3 separate regions of the Homo sapiens genome follow, and all the other regions are linked to region 3. The links are contacts of gene promoters, found by promoter capture Hi-C in human tissues and cell types (Jung and others, 2019). All regions are on one chromosome and are shown on one strand. The core of a region is centred on a gene start or on the middle of the fragment in contact, and the rest is flanking DNA. Distances in the headings are between cores, read along the strand shown.

Region 1 (4,552 bases), core at 908-3,407, 540 kb before region 3:
GATTACAGACGTTCACCACTACGCCCGGCTAATTTTTGTAGTTTTAGTAGAGACAGGTTTCACCACGTTGGCCAGGCTGGTTTTGAACTCCTGAGCTCAGGTGATCTGCCGCCTCGGCCTCCTAAAGTGCTGGGATTACAGGCCAGGGCTATGAGATTTCTAGGAGTAACTTGTCTTCTACGTCTCCTTCCATTTCTAGGGGCACATGGAATAACTTACATTTAGGAAAAAGAAAAGTTACCCAGAAAACCAGGTATTTCAGAAAGATGTGCAGGGAAGGGAGCAGTGGGATCACTGAGAAGTGCTGAGTCTTATTTAGTTAGAGGATCACAGTAGAAACCTTTGGAAAAGATTCCTCCATGATCAATCGGGATGGAAGGAGAAGGAGAAAGAAAGAGAAGGCACTTTTCAGGCCCTGAAATTAATCACATCAAAAGAGTGGCTCTAGCTTTATACCCACCTCACTCATGGTAGTGGATTAGTAGAATCTGCCAACGAGGGATACCAATTGACTGTTCGAGTCAGAGCCCTGAGAAAATTAAAGCTCTGTGTTTTAGTAAATCTGGGCAGGAGAGACTTAAAAAGAAGCTTAAAAACCTGTTGGCTTATATTAATACTTAGTCATACTTCTTGCTCGTTCTTCCCTGGAACTCGTGTACTAAATAAATCAAACCATCTGGATAGGTGGAGGTTGACATGCTAAGTCCTTTTGCCATTTTTTTTTTTTTTAAGGAAGTGAAGACTGGCTACCAACTGGTTTGCTTTTGCCCTTCTCATTTGTTCTGTCCAGAAAAACATCTTGATTTTCTTTTCAGAGTTGCTCAAGGAGATACAAAAGCAGATGATTTTTACACAAAATGGAGACATATGAGGTACACATGCCATCAACAATGGGTGTCTTTTTTCATAACAGAAATGCTGGTGTCTTGTGGAGAATTTGATCTCACTCTGTGTTGTCAGTGCAAAATGGATTTCTTATTTCTCTGATGGTTTTTCAGAGGTGAAATATATAGATTATTTCCATATAGATGCAATATTTTTAATTTTTCCCATTGATGGCTCTACTCTTAGGATTCCCCTAATTGGATTATGTTAGTATGCATGGCTCATGGTAATATCTCAACAAAGCAAGACATGGTTTTTAGTCTATATTAGTTTCATGCCCTCTCTTTTTAAAATAAGCACTCTGGCTTTTGGAAATGCTCTGATTTATTTTAAAATAGAAATCACTAGGGGAACTCTACATTGCCCTTTCAAAACTGTTATTACATGATTCTCATTTGTTGTTTATTTTAGTCACTTCACATATAATTTGGAAAATTCCCACTTTTTAAGAAGATGACAGATTAATTTTTTTTAACTTTCAGCTTTCTAGATTTCAATAAAAAATATAAAGACAGAGGTACCTTCTTTATCTTTTTATTTAGATGGTTACTTGGCTCTAATAGATAACATTTCTATATTAATAATATATAAGAACATAGCCTTTATGGTTAGATATGAGCAAGCTTTTGCCTGGGCTATTTATTGTGACAATGTGAACATTTAAGGCTGTGGTAGCTGTCTTGCAAAGCTATTTTCTTGCCTTCATTTCTGTTTTGGGAATCATCTTCTTTGCTATTAGAGCTATTCTATTTGTACTTGAACTTTGGAAGTTCTCTCCATTCTTTGCCTTATTACATAATAAATTGTAAAGTTTCAAAGTTTGTTTTTGAGAACAGTCCTTTAAAAGACAGGGCAGTGATGATTTCTTTCTCTTCATTTACAGCCTAGAAATGCAATTTGTATCCAATATCTCATAGCTCCAGGGAAGGAGCGTAACTTTTCCTGGTTCTGCCACTTGGATGCAGGTTTGTCGACGTTTCTGAGCCTTAGTTAGCTCATTTGTGTGTGAACCGGAGATAATGGTAGCATCTTACACCTTTGTTTTCAGGAGTAAATTGAGATAATACACATGTAACCCAAGTATCAGCTGAGCCATCCTGTCATTTAACATTGAAACAAAAATAGCTCTCTTATCTCCTTTTGCTGTTTGGTGGAAGTCTTGGCTGCTCCCAACATCTCCGAGGAATCTGAGAGTAGACAGGTTGGGGAAAGATGTCTAACTTTTTTCTTACCTTCTTGGGCTCTGAGCTTCTACTTGAGAAGAATTAGTTCATTTCATGAATTTTCTTCCTATGTTATGGTTGGCTTCTGTTTAGACTACCGTGATTCAGATATTTACACTTCCTTTCCATGATTTTCACTAAGATCCACTTACACAAGGCATTTGTGTTTCTAACACTTTATAGAAAGTTTGAGGACACAGAGAACATTTATACTCTAGTGATGATAACAACTTAAATCTAATTAAAATTTTTTTTATCATGGTAAAATATATATGTAGCATAAAAGTTGTCATTTTAAGTATTTTCAAGTGTACAATTCAGTGGCATTAAGTAAATTCACAATATCATGTCACTATTTCCAGAACTTTTCTCCATTCCAGACTGAAATCTCTTGGCCATTGTCTTCGGGACATTATCTCAATGTCCCAGCTCAAAATCAAATTTCTCCCTCTTTTTCTCCCTTCATTTCCTCCCTCCCTTCTTCCCTTCCTGCCACCTTCCCTCACCATCTCCTTTTGCTCTTTTCCCTCTTCATCTCCTTTCCTCCCTCTCTCCCTTCTGACTTTCTGTCAACAAACATTAGAATACCTCTAATGTTCCTGTTATCCCAGCACTTTGGGAGGCCAAGGCAGGTGGATCACGAAATCAGGAGATCGAGACCATCCTGGCCAACATAGTGAAACCCCGTCTCTACTAAAAATACAAAAAAATTAGCCAGGCGTGGTGGTGCTTGCCTGTAGTCCCAGCTACTCGAGAGGTTGAGGCGGGAGAATTGCTTGAACCTGGAGGCGGAGGTTGTAGTGAGCCGAGATTGCGCCACTGCACTCCAGCCTGGCGACAGAGCGAGAGTCTGTCTCAAAAAAAAAAATAAATAAATAAAATAAAATAAATAAATAAATAAATAAAGAATACCTCTAATGTTTCAACTTTCTATGCGAGGTGCTGGTTATGCAGTGGAAAACAAAGCCATTACTATTCCTGCTCTCCTGAAGCTCATAGTTGGGTTGTGAAGGACAAACTCACTGATTCTTCAATATCTTCTCCTATATGCTTTGCTCCCCTTAGGGCTTCACATTTTACTTCCAAATGCCTTACTTTTCTCCTCCAATGCATATAAAGGCTTACCAAGATGCTACATCATGCAAGTTATCAGTGAAGGATGGATGGATATTCTATCCTTTTACTTATATGTTGCTTGCTTATAATGAAACTATGTTGAAAGCTGAAAGTATAACCTACCTTTGGAATATCTGACTTTAAATCTGAGAGATCTAAAGCTTGTAAGACTCAAAGGAAGGTATTGAGATTTGGTCAAATAGCAGGAATGAATACTCGACACATTGGGACACAGGCCGGAACAGTCCCTTTAAAGCTATCCATGTAGATAGATAAAGGTGGGCTCTGATCTTCGACTTTAACCTTGTTAAAGACCTAGGCTTGGTCTTTTTAGATTTTCTGAAAACTCCTACCTGTGCTTACGAGTTTGTAAATGGCTTCCTATTTGAAAGACTTTGTGTTTGCCTTTATAAGTCTGAAAGCTTTACTTATTAGGATCTCTCGCTGCAATCTCTTTTGTAAACTGTGCTTTCCTATGTTTAACTGCCTGATGGGCATGTTCAGAGAGATGCCTAGAGTAATACTCAAAGACATTTTCTTTTTTTTTTTTTTTTTGAGATGGAGTCTCACTCTGTTGCCCAGGCTGGAGTGCAGTGGCGTGATCTTGGCTCACTGCAACCTCCGCCACCTGGGTTCAAGCAATTCTCCCCCCTCAGCCTCCCAAGTAGCTGAGATTACAGGCACCCGCCACCACACCCAGCTAATTTTTCTTGTGAGTATATTTTTAGTAGAGACAGGTTTTCACCATGTTGGCCAGGCTGGTCTCGAACTGACCTCAGGTGATCTGCCCACCTTAGCCTCCCAAAGTGCTGGGATTACAAGCATGAGCCACTGTGCCTGGCTAATATTCAAAGAAATTTTCAAAACTCAAATTGTTATAATATAATCTATTATATTAATTAGACATGATTTGTATGAAACAATTATGATTGGGAACCAGTACCTATTAGCACAAGTAAAAAGCTATTATAAGCAAATATGATTGCTTTGTGTAAGTTGTTCTGTGCCCTATTATTAAAACAGATGATACGATAAGAATATGTAATAATTATGTTAATGATAGTTGCTGGTTCCTGTAAGAAAGACAGGTGATTACTCTTTTTATTTTTATTTTTAGGACAGAGTCTTATTCTGTAACCCAGGCTGGAGTGCAGTGGTGCGATTATGGCTCACTGTAGCCTCAACCTCCCAGGCTAAAGCGACCCTCCCAGACAGGTGATTACTCTTAATCCAGAACTGGATGTGGTCTAGGGTAGAATTTGTTTAGTGATATATAGATTTCTCAGCTATATACTTACCACCAAAACAAGTTATTAAAATTTCTTCAT
Region 2 (4,642 bases), core at 1,887-4,386, 690 kb before region 3:
GGTTAGGTCTGATCTAATTACACGAGTTCTTTTTTTTTTTTTGAGACGGAGTCTTGCTCTGTTGCCCAGGCTAGAGTGCAGTGGTGTGATCTCGGCTCACTGCAAGCTCCACCTCCCAGGTTCACGCCATTCTCCTGCCTCAGCCTCCTGAGTAGCTGGGACTACAGGCACCTGCCACCGCACCCAGCTAATTTTTTTGTATTTTTAGTAGAGACGGGGTTTCACCGTGGTCTTGATCTCCTGACCTCGTGATCCACCCGCCTTGGCCTCCCAAAGTGCTGGGATTACAGGCATGAGCCACCGCGCCCGGCTCATCACATGAGTTCTTAAAAGCAGAATGTTTTCTCTACTGATAGCAGAAGTCAGAGATTCAAAGCATGGAGGAGATTCAACATACTGTTGCTAACTTTGACCATGGAGTGGACCCCATATGAAGGGATGCAGGCGCTGCTTAGAAGCAGAGAGATGCTCCCACCTAACAGCCAGCAAGTAAATGGGAACCACAGACCTACATCCACAAAGAGCTGAATTCTGTCAACAAACTGAACGAGTTTAGAATTAGATCCTTCTGCAGAACCTCCAGATAAAGGCCCAGACTGGCTGATGCCTTGACTTTGGTTTTATGAAATTCTAAGCAGAGAACCCAGCCAGGCTTACTGAATTTCTGACCTACAGAACTGTGAGATAATAAAATGTGGTGTTTTAAGTTGCTAAATTTTGGGTATTGTGTTTTGCACCAATAGAAATCTAATACATCCTCTCAGATTAAAAAGAAACCACTAATCCCCTCTCATTGGGCAATTCATGAATCAGAATAGCTGGATCTCTTATCTTCTACCCATTTCCCCCATATATTCCTAGGGTTATCATGAGAAAATTCCATGGAATCCAATCTCAGCTGTACTTCCAATTCGCCATTTGAATGACTCTTCACGCTCAGCCAGGTGTTCTGGTAACTGTTTCTCTTTGGGGAGCCAGGAATGGCCATTGACCAGTTGGGAAACCAAAGCTCAGAGGAAGCTTATGTGAGGTCATACAGAAAATTGGTGGCAGATCAGCTGGGCGTGGTGGCTCAACGCCTGTAATCCCAGCACTTTGGGAGTTCGAGGTGGGCGGATCACCAGGTCAGGAAGATGGAGACCATCCTGGATAACACGGTGAAACCCCGTCTCTACTAAACGTACAAAAAAAATTAGCGAGGTGTGGTGGTGGGCACCTGTAGTCCCAGCTACTCGTGAGGCTGAGGCAGGAGAATGGTGTGAACCTGGGAGGCGGAGCTTACAGTGAGTCTAGATCGTACCACTGCACTCCAGTCTGGGCAACAGAGCAAGACTCTGTCTCAAAAAAAAAAAAAAAAAAAAAAAAAAAAAAAAAAAGAAAGAAAATTGGTGGTAGATAGATATGGCTTGTTTAAATGTGTTTTATTTTAAAATTTCTTCTTTCCATTAGGAAGCAGAGGTCTACTCTTTTGAGCAAGATAATTCTGAAGGTGAATTTAACATCTGATGCAGTTGTAACACTTACGTAGGGAAATACTTTTCTACTCTCATTTTCAGGCATACTTTATTACCACAGCCTCTTGGGTTTTGCCAGCAAAACATCTTTTTGTGACCTCAATTATATGCTGTCGATTTGTTTAAGCCACGCTATTTCCACCTCAGTAGTGATCCAACTTGTTGGCATTGGATAGACCCTCACATTCATTGTTATGTGAATAGACACTTAAAACCATTTTGATGTAGTAAAAGAAAGTAAGTAAATTTAGGTTACTAAAGAAAACTCCTGCTGAAATCTTTGACCCTGAGCTCCAAAGAGCATAGTATAAATGCTGGGTAAACTATTTTTGTCCTCTGCTCTGTAAATGAGTTCCTTTCTTTCTTCCATTGAGTACTGTTCAGCACAGCTGCTATTTTTAGAGCCAAAAAAAAAATGGGAACTGAAAATAAAGAAATAAAACCTTGTCTGAAACACCTAAGCCTGTGAATCATGGCCTGCCTCCTGCATAGAGTGTGTGTAGCTGCTAAGTAATTTATGAATGAAGGAGTGTAGACCAGGGATGGCATCAACAAAAAGAACTAAGACTGATGGATTCTATTTCTATTTCCAAACTGATGATGAAATGACTTCAGATAAGTCACTTTAACTTATTTTGGGACCTCTACCTGTAAAATAGGAAGAAACTCCTTTTTTTCTTGACAATGATATAAAGACCTGCTTAGCTTCTCACCTTTGCAGACTTCTCGTTTAAGGCTTGATTCTCTGAAGCTCCTCCTTTAATATTCAACCCTGTACAACAGCAATGGGATCCATGCTTTTCCTTGGGACAAAGGAACTCAGGACAATAATTCAAATGATTCAGCCTTAGTGCTGGTTCACTTGGAGTGTTAGCCCTGGTTGGGTTCTGGCTTTGTTCTGTGTGATCTAGCCCTTTCCTATGACCTCATTCTAGTAACTGGATCCCCAGATTGTTTTATTACATCTGAGCCTCTCCTTTGGTTTTCGATCTGCTATGCCACTTCCTCTGAGACTAAAGCTCTGCAGCTGATCCTTTTTGTCCCTGCTGTCATATTTCAGCCAGAGTATCCAGTTTAGGTAAGGTTTCAACTCTTTGTCCATCTATGCCACCACTTTTTTTTTTTTTTTGAGATAGAGTCTCGCTCTGTCGCCCAGGCTGGAGTGCAGTGGCACAATCTTGGCTCACTGCAAGCTCCACCTCCCGGGTTCACACCATTCTCCTGCCTCAGCCTCCTGAGTAACTGGGACTACAGGCGCCCACCACCATGCCAGGCTAATGTTTTGTATTTTTTTTTTTTTTTTTAGTAGAGACAGAGTTTCACCGTGTTAGCCAGGATGGTCTTGATCTCCTGACCTCGTGATCCACCCACCTCAGCCTCCCAAAGTGCTGGGATTACAGGCGTGAGCCACCGCGCCCGGCCATATGCCACTACTTCTTGAAAGACAATCCTTGAAGACAATTCATTAAAAAATTTTAAATTCAATGTTGAGGAAACCCCCAAAATACTTGTAAAATATGCATAAAATATAAAGACTAATGATACAGTGAATATCTGGAGTATCTCACCTGGTTACCACCACTATCACTACCAAAAAAAAAAAAATTATTGTTACCATTGAAGTCCTTGTCCCATTCCCTTTCCTCTCTACTCAGAGGAAACCACCCTGGCTGAATTAACTTGTGTTTATCTCTCGCTCTCGCTCTCTTTTTTTTTTTTTTTTTTGAGACTGAGTCTAGCTCTGTTGCCCAGGCTGGAGTGCAGTGGTGCAATCTTGGGTCACTGCATGCTCCGCCTTCTGGGTTCACGCCATTCTCCTGCCTCAGCCTCTCGAGTAGCTGGGACTACAGGTGCCCGCCACCGCGTCTGGCTAATTTTTTGTATTTTTAGTAGAGACAGGGTTTCACCATGTTAGCCAGGATGGTCTTGATCTCCTGACCTTGTGATCTGCCCGCCCCGGCCTCCCAAAGTGCTGGGATTATAGGTGTGAGCCACCGCACCCAGCCTATCTCTCTCTTTTTGTAACTTTAGTTTTCCCAGACGGTATATCCCTAAGTAACATATTATTTAATGTTGTATATTTTTGAACTTTATATAGATAAATTATAGTGTATGTGTTATGATATTTCCTTTTTTAGTTCAACATTATGTCTCTGAGATACTCCATGTTTTTACATTTACCTGTAAATTATTAATTGTCACTTCTAGAAGGCAGTGTTTTCATTGCATGACTCTCACATAGTTTGTTACCTCTGCTATCCTTGATGAACATTTGGATTTTTGCTATTTTTATTATGAAAGGGACTGCTATGAATATGCACCTGTCTTCTAGAAGAAACACTTGCTGGTTGATACAGTCTTCAAAGATGCTTGTCTCAATTTATAATCTCACCAGAAGGATAATTCCATATCCTTGCCAACATTAGATTTTGTTAGGCTCTTTAACTTTTGTCAGTCTGGAAGTCATAATATAGTACCTAATTGTGGTTTGAATTTTTGTTTTCTTGGCGATTAACAAAACTAAGAATCTTACTTGTATTTTTTTGGTCCTTGGATTTTCTCTTCTCTGAAGAACTGTTTACATTTTTTGTTTCAGTTTCCTACCAGTCATTTGCTTTTTAAAATGATTTGCAGAAGTTCTTTGCTCAGTTACTATTCCTTTGCCAGTAACATCTAGGGCAAACATTTTTTTTCCCAGTTTGTGGGTTGTCTTTTTATATTTCATATCTTTTAGGACCAAAAATCCTTAATTTTAATTTAGCTAATTTATCTCTTTTAAAAAATGACTTGCATCTTTTGCATCTTAAGACAATTTTCCTGGCCCAGTGTGGTGGCTCCTGCCTGTAATCCCAGAACTTTGGAAGGCCAATGTGGGAGGATTGCTTGAGGTCAGGAGTGAGACCAGCTTCAGCAACATATTGAGACCCCATATCTACCAAAAAAAAAAAAAAAGACTTTTTTCGTTCTCCTAATATCACAAATATGTTGTCCTATATTTTGACTAAAAGTTGTATAGTTTTGCCTTTCATATTTATGTCTTTAATCTATCTGGAATCTGTTTCTGTGCAAGAGGTTAAAAAGGGCTTTGATTTAATTTTTTCCAAACCAATAACAATGTCTAAGTAATG
Region 3 (4,433 bases), core at 1-2,500:
GATCTTTAAACATACAAGTGTGGTTATTCAAAATTATAAATGACTTGCGTGTGTTACAAAGGTATTGTATACAAGATGAGTGTGCAGCCTATAAAGCTGAAAGTATTCAGATGTGCCCTTTTAAATTTATAATATCCTCAGTCTTTCAAGGAAGTGTTTGCATAAGAATTACTGAGAATTGCTGAATGTTCTTGGGCTTCTTCAGACCTTAGAAAGGGAGTCTAGTTAGTGCACTAAGACTATACTTCTATTTTATTGTCATTAGCTGAGCCAAATATATTATAGAATATGTTATAGAAATTGTGCTGGTTGGCTCTGTGCCATGAGTATGAAACTATGCTAAGAACGGTGTCCTAATGCGATAAACATAGGAACTGATCATCTGTCTGCAGTCAATAAAAAAAGCACAGAATAAAGATGAAAAATATCTGAAGAAGGTTCATTATAAAGGAAAATAATCAACCTTTGAGAAGCACAAACACAAGTAAACACACCACTTTGTCAAGTATAGAAAAAAGGAATTAAATCCATTAGTAATTCAGAAAAGGAAGAAATAACTCCTAAATGGGAAGATTGGGGAAGACTTCAGGAAAAGGACGCATTTAAACTTGGCTTTCAAGGAGATTAGGGAAACGAAATGTTAGGCAAAAGACAAGTATTTATTGGGCAATGGCCACACTCAGTACTTTGCATGAACACTGAGAAGGAATGTGATCACAAAGTCCTCTCACATTCTGGTCCACTGGAGAGAACAATATCTGAGTGGAATGAGATTGGGCTCAACCTGGATCCAATTCTAACTTTAAATGTCTTGAACATCAAATTACCACATTCTGCTACATTGGCAGCTCTCAAAACCAGTGCTAAATGTTAATCAGTATTCAGTTGGCCACTGCCTCATGCATTTCTCATTGTCCACTTACCAATGTGCAGAGTCATGGTGGCAAAAAAAAAAAAAAATGTTAGCTTGGTTGGACAGGTTTAGACTCTTATTTGACCAACCCCACCTTGAATGAGTCATCTTTGGAGCTAACATAAAAGCCATTTTGAAGATTCAAAATGGACTTACATCTTTGTTAATAAGACATCATCTGCATATATAACCAAAGTGGTAATGAGATGTTATCCTTCAAATTAGTTTAAGCAATGAGTTGCAAAGAAGTCTTGAGAAGCCAACACCCAGGTTTCTGAGTATATAATCGCCGCACCAAAGAATTTAATTTTCAAACTCAGCATGTTGAGTCCTTATGACCATCTTTAAGGATTTTTAGCAATATGCCTCATAGCCACTGCCATTCACTCAGGAGCTTCCACAATGCCCCACCACTCTCTGCCATCACACATGGCACTAATCCTATAACCTTTGAAGACAGATTGTGTTTGCCCAGCAGCTTCCATAGCAGAACCTGTTTCCTGGACAACTTTCAAGAAACCTGCAATGAAACCACCAGCTGCCAAATGACCAATTGTGAACAGGACTTATTCACAGACGATAGCTGTGTGCAAAGTAACTGCTTCCCCGGAGTTGTCCAAACTACTTACTCCAATTCCAGGCCCTGCGAAAGGACAGCGTGCCAATCAGAAAGTTCTTCAGCAGGGCTGGCTTGTGTTTCTCAGCCTTGCCAATCAGAAAGCACTCAGCAGATGGGTTTTGTAGCCCAGAGCTGCCAACCTGCAAGCCTCAAGGGAAACAGTTGCCCACCCAAGACTTCTAAGTCTAAAAATTTCGAAACTCTGGAACGTGCATCTAGCCAATGTCAGTGTCAGTCTCAGAACCCTGAATCCAGTTCCTGTAGACCTCTGGTCAATGTTGCACCTGAGCCACAACTCCTGGAATCTTCTCCAGGAGTTGAACCAACTTGCTGTGTTACTGGTGGTTCTCAATTGCCTAGTAAGTGAAGATCTGTAGGGGAGATGGCTTATATTCTCATTTGGATGAATTTATTTTTGAGATACTTAGATATTTTGTATTTCTTTAAATAAAAAATGTTGTGTGTGTTTGTTAGTAAATGAACATGTCTTATTTTACTACTGTCTCCAAAGACAAGATTTTTTTTCTTGTTTTTCTTTTGGGTATGTCTAGTGGTAATCTGGGGTTGGAAAGCATGCTAGCTATTTTAGAGCAGTAGGATACGATTTGTTATTAAGCAATAAGAGCTGTAGCCAGGAAATAACATGAATACTTAAAGGAAACATCACACTTTAACTGCAAGTTGTTTTCTTTGGAAATACTTAGCATTGGATCTGGTTTATTAAGTAATGTGCTACTAGTCTCAGAAATTCATAAAATATTGGAACCAAACCTAAAAGCCTACCTAGTCCTGTGAATTACGATAGGTTCAACTCTATCAGAGGTTGCCCAAGTAGTTAATAACATCAGAACCACAACTAAAATCCAGGCCTACTCACTGGCCATCTGTTATTTTAGCCATTGAATCACAACATTCTCAAATTAACTAGAAGATTAAGTCTATTGTTCGAATAGAGCAAGGTAATTTTGAATTTCACCTCCATGGGCTTTATAACCACGTAGCAACCAGAAGCCTTTAAATAGAATGAATTGAAGTTTAGAATCTTCACTTCATTTCGTTCCCGTTGTTTTTTTGGTTGTTTGTTTTTTTCCTGTTTTCATTATTTCTTAAGTATTTTTTGAGTTTGGAAAATATTCTTTGTATTAAATAAATTTGCTTTCTTTGGAAGCAAAATTTGGACTTGTCACACTATTATTTTTATTCAATCCTTTTGCAGGTGTTATGTTACAGGCTTTTTGTTTCTTCGTTTGTTACCTAATGAAAATAGTATAAATATTTAGAAGAAAAGAGAACATATCCTCTTGTTATAATTTTTATAGTGTGAACCAGAAAAGAATAACTCATGGTGGTAGTCAACAGAAGATGGAAAATATACTCATATGAACATCATAAGACCATAGAGTCAGATGTTTGAAATTGATTAATTTTATTTAGGTAGCTTAGCTATTCTGAAACTTTTGGTGTGTTCTTAAATTGATCTTTCAATTTTTTTTTTTTTTTTTGAGATGGAGTCTCGCTATGTCACCCAGGCTGGAGTGCAGTGGCGCAATCTCGGCTCACTGCAAGCTCTGCTTCCTGGGTTCACGCCATTCTCCTGCCTCAGACTCCCGAGTAGCTGGGACTACAGGTGCCTGCCACCATGCCCGGCTAATTTTTTGTATTTGTAGTAGAAACGGGTTTCACCACATTAGCCAGGATGGTCTCAATCTCCTGACCTCGTGATCCGCCTGCCTCGGCCTCCCAAAGTGCTGGGATTACAGGCGTGAGCCACCATGCCTGGCCTTGGATCTCACATTTTTTCAGGGCAAAATAAGGTAGTGGTTGAGAGCATGAACTCTGAATATGGATTTCCTTGAGCTGGAATCTTAGCTTTGCTTAGTGATGGCTGTTTAAGTTCCAACTGTGTGACTGTGTGCAAGTTATTTAACCACCTCAGTTTCTTCAACTTCAAAAGTGAAGGATAATAATAGGGCTACTGTGAGCCTTAATAAGTTAATAAATTGAAAGTGTAAGGCTTAAAAAATTACCATGTATATAGCATATTTAGCAACTCAGCTAGCTCAGAGACTTGGTATGGGGGAGGTAGTGGGGATTTGTAAATAAACCCAGAAATCCATGAGAGATTAGGAAAGCTAGTCATCCAACAAAAGAGAGATTAGCTGTTTTGTATTTTGGAAGATGCAGGCAGCATCATCTACTAAGGGAGAAAATTAAGAAACTTAAACGCTGTCTAGTTGAAGTAAATTGGCAAGTATCTCTGAATCTATGGCAAACCTAATGCTACTGATAATTTACCAGTTAGTTCTGAGGGTGGGTGCCATGGTAATTCTATGTATCAACATGATTGAGCCAAGGGCTGCCCAGATTAAGCATTATTTCTGAGTGTGTCTGTGAGAGTGTTCAAGGGAGATAAGCATTTAAATCAGTGTGCTCAGTAGATGGCCCTCTCCAATGTGGATGGGAATCGTTCAGTCCATTGAGGGCCTAAATAAAACAAATGGTCGGGGAAGGAGAAATGTGCCCGTTTATGTTTCCTGCAAGCCTACTTGAGCAGAGACATTGGGTTTCTCCTGCCCTTGGACTGGATTTATACCATTGGCTCCCCTGGTTCTCAGATCTTCACATTTGGACTGGAATTATATCACTGGTTTCCTTGAGTTTCCAGGTTGCAGGTGACACATCATGAGATTTCTTAGCCTCCATAATTGTGTGAGCCAATCCTTCGTGATAAATCACTCACTCTCTCTCTCTCTTCATACACACACACACACACACACACACACACACACACACACATGCATATATATACACACACATATATACAGTGAGATAAATATATATTATATATAGTCTGTCTATCTATCTATCTATCTATCTATCTATCTATCTATCTATCATCTA

What was found. Contacts are between HindIII fragments. The study calls those that stand out against the background at their distance.
Region 1: a contact is called between a fragment that was not itself captured here and the fragment with the promoter of KRTAP27-1 in region 3, in 2 of the 25 tissues and cell types used here (aorta and dorsolateral prefrontal cortex).
Region 2: a fragment that was not itself captured here is called in contact with the fragment with the promoter of KRTAP27-1 in region 3 in 1 of the 25 tissues and cell types used here (dorsolateral prefrontal cortex).

Annotation. Positions count from the first base shown.
Region 1 is chr21:30,875,457-30,880,008 of GRCh38, reverse strand. No RefSeq gene overlaps it. Among named protein-coding and RNA genes, the nearest start is that of KRTAP11-1, 3.8 kb to the left of the region's middle. The HindIII fragment of the contact is 4,508 bases long and covers 1-4,411 here.
Region 2 is chr21:31,027,864-31,032,505 of GRCh38, reverse strand. It overlaps LOC105372774 (a long non-coding RNA gene), which reads right to left and starts at 2,411. Exons shown (of 3, transcript XR_937657.2): 1 at 2,228-2,411. The HindIII fragment of the contact is 5,506 bases long and covers 384-4,642 here.
Region 3 is chr21:30,334,511-30,338,943 of GRCh38, reverse strand. KRTAP27-1 (keratin associated protein 27-1) reads left to right here and starts at 1,250. Exons shown (of 1, transcript NM_001077711.1): 1 at 1,250-1,931. The coding sequence starts at 1,276. The coding sequence ends at 1,899. The HindIII fragment of the contact is 14,979 bases long and covers 1-4,433 here.